Linked DNA regions of Homo sapiens: region 1 is linked to region 2. The links are contacts of gene promoters, found by promoter capture Hi-C in blood cells and fetal thymus (Javierre and others, 2016). All regions are on one chromosome and are shown on one strand. The core of a region is centred on a gene start or on the middle of the fragment in contact, and the rest is flanking DNA. Distances in the headings are between cores, read along the strand shown.

Region 1 (2,881 bases), core at 72-2,571, 1.9 Mb after region 2:
ATCAATTAGAAAGAAGAAAATGAAAAATAAAAAATGGGAAATATGAGCTATTATATATTAGAAAACTAGAAGTAAATAGCCAAATATATGCAAGGGTGGGCTTTGCTAAAGAGTCCCATGTCAAAGTAATAATTTCTTTATATTTGATGATTGAGAATCATTTGGATGTAAATACATTTTCATTTCATGTTTGGGTAATTGACTTTTTAACAGTTCATGGAACTACCAACAAAGTGTACATTATTTGGATTTTACATTTCCCAAATAATATGCAACTTTAGATTGCTTTCTGACATTTAAATCAGAAAAATGTTGCAGGGATTTTCAGTGAGTTTTTCTCCCTCTCATTGGCAACCCTAAACTATTTGGGGGTATTTCGTTCTATACCTCTTTGTCAAAGCTTTCTAGGGTTTCTAGAAAGCTCAGGCTGTCTTTATAACAATTTCTTAGTATGTTTCAACATGCTAATAAGAAAACACTAGGCAAATATCATTTCAGTTGGGGAAATGAAGAAATTGTAAGTTAAAGGATCATGCGTCAAAACAATATAATATTGATTGGCCTCAAATACGCCTTTATTCTTTTGTACACTATAAAGAAACTTAAACCATTTTTAGATAGGAGCTAATATTTCAGCTTCTGTTTTAAGCAATGAATGAACTCAGCAGTAACTCTGGGAGATAGGTGTTCTTTGGATATCCATGTAATAGATGAGAAGATTGAGACATAGAAAGGCTTACAGAGCTTGCCCAGGGTCATAGACTTAGGCTGTCCACAGCCTGGAGTTCTTGGTTCTAAGGCCATGACCCTTCCATTAAAATATTACTCAAGGCCAGGCAGTCTGGTTCCAGAGCCCAGTGTCTTATGAGGCAGGGAAGGTGGCCATAAACCATTGATTAAAATACTCTTGAATAGGAATTTCTCCTAATATTCTCCACTAATGCTTTGAAACAGGTTTCTAATTGACACCCATGTTTATAAGCATCAAATTATTCCCTCAACATCATGCAACCTGTAAAGAAGGCATGCTACAGGTAGTGAAGTTAGTGAGGTGAAGTAAAAATTAGAATGTTTGAAGAGCTAGTTAATATTTTTAAAGTGAATACATAGTTTTTATTTTCTTTTGTCTTCCCCCACATGACCATGTTTCAAAAGTTTAGCTTTAGAAGTTGCTTTCAAGTACTGTGTTAGAGATATTGGAATCATTTTAAAACAATCTTGAAATCCTTCTAATGCCCCTCAATGAAATTCAGATAATTTACATAAGACCTCAGTTCCTGTTGGTCCTCCAGTGAAGGATGAACCCCAGAATTATTTTCTTCTTCTTCCTTCCACCTCTTTCTTCAAAATTCTCATCAAATAGTATTTATTGTATAACACATAAAAATAACAAAATATTATTACCTCGCAAATCTTGTCTGAAATTTTACTTTTTTTTTTTCCTAGTTAGAAGAATTTTGGCATGCAAGTGCTGAATTATTTTATATATTTGGGCTATCTAAGGAGACAATTTAAACAACTGACTTTAGCATAGGACCAAGTAAAATTTCATGATGGCATTTGACTACCATTTAAAAAGACATTTTGGACCTCCCTTTTGGCTTAACTAAGGCATATAGCTTGCAATTTTTTGCCTCCTGCTCCTTCTTGCATTTCTGTGGGACTGCCGCAGCTCCCCCAGTGACTGATTCCTGCTTGATGCGGCAGTGTGCAGCCATAAGCCCTTGCCTCACCCTGGAATAAAGCACCTAGTTTAGCCCTTCCCTTCTAACTCCAAGTGCTAAAGAATGGTAATTAGCATTCTTTGGACCTTTACTACATGCCTAACAATATACTAAAGGTTTTATATGCTCTGTTGAGCAATCTTGTGAGGTGTAGGTACTGTTGCTATTCCCAAAGTTAGAGAAGGAAATCTGTCTAGTAGATACATAGTGTGAGCTACATGTATAATTTTAAATTTTCTAAGAGACACTTACAAATTTTAAAAGAAACAGGTGAAATTATTTTTAATAATGTATTTCATAACTTCAGCTTTCCAAAATATTTTCATTTCAACATGTAATCAATATAAAATTGTTAATAACATATTTTGCCCTCTTTTTTTTACTAAGTCTTTTACTTCTGATGTTTATTTTATACTTAAGACACATTTCAGTCTGACTATATTTCATGTGCTCAATTGCCACTTGTGGCTAGTAGCTACCATATTAGCACAGTTATAGATAAAGAAGCTGAAGCTTGGCAATAAGAGCCTTAGTAAATGCAGCCGCAGGAATCAAGTGCAGGGAACTGATTCTGGGCCTCAAGCTCTCAATCAGCACAGTATACCATCTCAGGACCTGGATAGTTTCTTCCTTCAACTTACAAGCATCACCTTGTTAGATTCTTCTGTGGCTTTAACTGCCTGTATCACAACTAACGAGCATAGTCAGGTTCCATTCTCTACCTATTTCTTTCTCTTTCAGTTGATCCTGTGGTGTTAGCTCTGTGTCTTTGATCCATTTCCCTGTTGAGTCAAAGGACATAAAATTACAGACCAGTGGAAGTCTATGGGAGTCACTTCTCTTTTTTCTGACCTAGCTACTTTTGTCTTCCCATAATTGTGAGCTTGGGCCTGTAGAATGTATGCACTATTTGCTACTTACAGTTAGAAAGCCTCTGTAACTAGCCATTCCTCATAGTAGTGATTCTCAAAGCAGTGTGGCACAAGGTTCATAGGGTAAGTGTATCATAATTTATGATGAATCAGGTAGGGTTGAGCGATGAGTTATTGAAGCAAGAATGTGGAAAAGCAAAGCAGTGCAATAGCCTTGATAGAGAAAGTCAACAGCTTCCAGTCTGTCTTTCACACAACATCAAATAAAAAAACTTGGATCAAGAA
Region 2 (2,940 bases), core at 47-2,546:
TTCAGAGATTTAAGTGATTTACTCACTTAGCTAGTGAGAGAGAGATATGGGACTTGCTCTAGTCTTACTGACGCCACAGTCTTTGTTCTTATCCCCTGTGACTGTTAGAAATCACTTAGCTCCATGTAACAAAAAACGTGAAAAACACTAAAGTTTATTGTCCTCACATAAGAAGTCCAGAGGAGTTGTTGCCTTGAGGCTGTCATCAGGGCCGCAGGCTCCTTCTCTTGCTGGTCCCTGTCGTTAATGTGTGCCTCTGGCCTCAGATGAACTCACTAAATGGCTGCTCTGTCCCACGGCATCCTATCTTCATTCCAGGCAAAAAGAAAGGGAGGAGCAAAAGCTAAAAGCCTTTCAGAAGGGCTTACTTTTCTATTTAAGAAGGAGGCCCTCCTCAGAAATTCCCACCTGCATTTCATTGGCAACATCTATGCTGCTTGGCCACCCCTAGCAGCAAACAAGGCTATGAAGTAGAGACTTTTGTTTTCCAGCTTTGACAAGTGAAAAAAGGGGAAAGTGAGTTGGATGGGTGCTGAGGAAACCAATTTATACAGTACATGTACAAGTAGCCTACACAATCACTCTGCTCACTGGCACTACAGATAAAGCACATGTTGCTATCCTAACCTAGAGGGCTCATGAGATCTAGTCCTTTCTTTTTGACCTTATATCTCTGTTCTCTTCAGCCAAACTGGGGTTTTTCGCTGTTAACATGTTCCCTTTTAAGCCTCCACCCTGTCATCCAAGTTTCACGTTCTCCCCAACCCCATTCCCAGTGTAGTAAAAGGCTCCTGGCATTCTGCCACTAAATGTGCATTAGTGTTAGAATATTCTGAGCATGAAAAAATAAAAATCACAACTGTATCTCAAACAAAAAGGATTTTTTTTTTTATTTCTCTCCCTTAAAACAATCCAGGCCAAGTGACAGGAAGGCTCCAGAATTTTCAGTGACCTGGGTTCCCTCTATTTTGTTGCTCTGCTATCTTCCACACGCAGTTTCCAGCTCAGCCAATCTCGTCTACCCTGGCACCGCATATAGTAGGCATAAACAAAACAGAGAAGTGGAGAGACTGAAGTGAAGGAAATGATTTCCGCATCCTAAGTAAGCTCTAAGGTGCTTTTCCACTTTTCACCTTCCACTTGGAATTCATAGTTCTACCTGAATTCCACTAGATGGCAGCACATACATTTATAAAGTGTATGGATGGAGCCACTAAACTCTGAAAGCAGGGAAACTACAAATCCCAGCATGCATTATTAAGCGCTTGACTTGCTTCCAGACAAAGGTTGTCTCAAGTTTGTTGCTCAAACCGAGTTCTGGAGAACGCCATCAGCTCGCTGCTTAAAGTAAGATTTCCTAATACTTTTGAAATGAAACTTTAGAACGGAAAGAGGGGAGGTTTAATTTTTAGATGTTGTTTTTTTCTGCACGTTGCCTGTTTCAAAATTAATCTGAGCAGTTAGATCAGTGTAAAGATGGGTTTTTAAAGAGCCTGAAACTCTGTGGTATGTATGTTTTATAAAGTAGCCCAAGAAAAAAGGATTCTTACGGTATCCTAAGTGAAGAGTTTTCTTCCTGGCTCTTGAAAACAATGGCTTCCTGAATATGCTGTTTGTGTCTCTGCTAATCAAAAATCAACATTTTGATTCTAACTTTTGGACTAAGGAAGCCAACATGTATGGTTTTCACATTGGATATATTGAGAGGTGCCTTGTTTTACCATTTCAGGCCGTGTTTGCTCTCATTTTCTCAAAGAAATCTGTTTTAGTTTGAGATTACAGTTTATCAAATGTTAAGGCTTTGACCCCAAAATCTGGTCCCAGAAAGACAGGAAGGCCAGCTAAGAGGAGGTTTTCAGAGTGCATAGAAAGGCTGCTCTGTGCTTCGGCATTTGTTCTGGAAGTGCTTCTTCGGTTGGCAAAGATTCCTAGCAAAACCTTTGACTGGAGGCTTTACAGGGCCATACACCCAATATCACTAATGACAGTGTTGTAAAATAGCTTTTGTGCACCATGCTTAGGATTCAAGGAGGATAAAGTATATCTTTCTAAAGTTATACTTTAGAAACTGTCATTCCATGTTGAAATGATAAACATTCCATGTTTATCTTTTGTGTAAGAAGTAAAAAAGCAAAAATTCATTGCATCAAAGTAGGTCAGGCACTGTTAAAGCCAAGCTTCCCCATCGCCTAAAAAATGTGGACAAACTCAGAGGAAGTCAGTGATTATAAGCTGATCCCTGGAGCCAGTTCTTACATAATTGTGTTAGTCTGCTCCTCCAAGAAGCAGACTCCAAGATAGAATTAAATATGCATGGATTTTATTAGGGGAAATGCTGTTGTGAGAGAGAATGAGGAGAGAACTAGGTAAGGCTGTGAGAGCCATCAGACCTCGATGCAAGTCCACCCGCGAGGGAGGAAAAGAAGGAAACCAGGTTGAGTGGAAGCATCCCAGACAGCTGTGCAGTCTAAGAGAACTTCAGCAAGGTAATAAGGAGCTTCTCTAGCCAGTCATCCGTTGGGGAGGAGGTCTATGTCTCCCAGAAATGAGTCTGCCTTAGTAAGCATGCATGCTCAGGCACTGGCTTGTAACGGCCCCGAGAAGGTGGCCTCAGCACAAACCCAGAGAGGCAGCAGCAGCTGCGCCTCATTGTCCATTACTTCCTGGGGTCAGCGGTCTGCGAGGCACAGGCTCCTGGTGCCACAGTGGGGATTTAGAGAGGCCCGCAGGGCTTTGAGTACCATGAGACAATGCCATGAGATCTTCCCTTGGACCTGCAACAAGAAGGCCTAGGTTTGAATTCATAGCTGCAAAACACTGGGCAAATAACATTTCTTTGAAATTAGCCACGTTGGTGATCAGGTCCTACCTATCTCATCTCTGAAACACTTCTCCAATCCACCTATCTCTCCATCCCTGCTATTTTCTCCAGCCCTGCTA

What was found. Contacts are between HindIII fragments. The CHiCAGO score rates a contact against its expected background, and 5 or more counts as called.
Region 1: a fragment that was not itself captured here is called in contact with the fragment with the promoter of BDH2 in region 2 in 1 of 17 cell types (activated CD4 T cells); the score reaches 5.6 in activated CD4 T cells.

What each region holds. Positions count from the first base shown.
Region 1 is chr4:101,183,726-101,186,606 of GRCh38, reverse strand. The region is part of intron 2 of PPP3CA (protein phosphatase 3 catalytic subunit alpha); the gene reads left to right. Among named protein-coding and RNA genes, the nearest start is that of MIR8066, 56 kb to the left of the region's middle. The HindIII fragment of the contact is 1,837 bases long and covers 403-2,239 here.
Region 2 is chr4:103,098,190-103,101,129 of GRCh38, reverse strand. BDH2 (3-hydroxybutyrate dehydrogenase 2) reads left to right here and starts at 1,296. Exons shown (of 10, transcript NM_020139.4): 1 at 1,296-1,347. The HindIII fragment of the contact is 3,413 bases long and covers 1-2,179 here.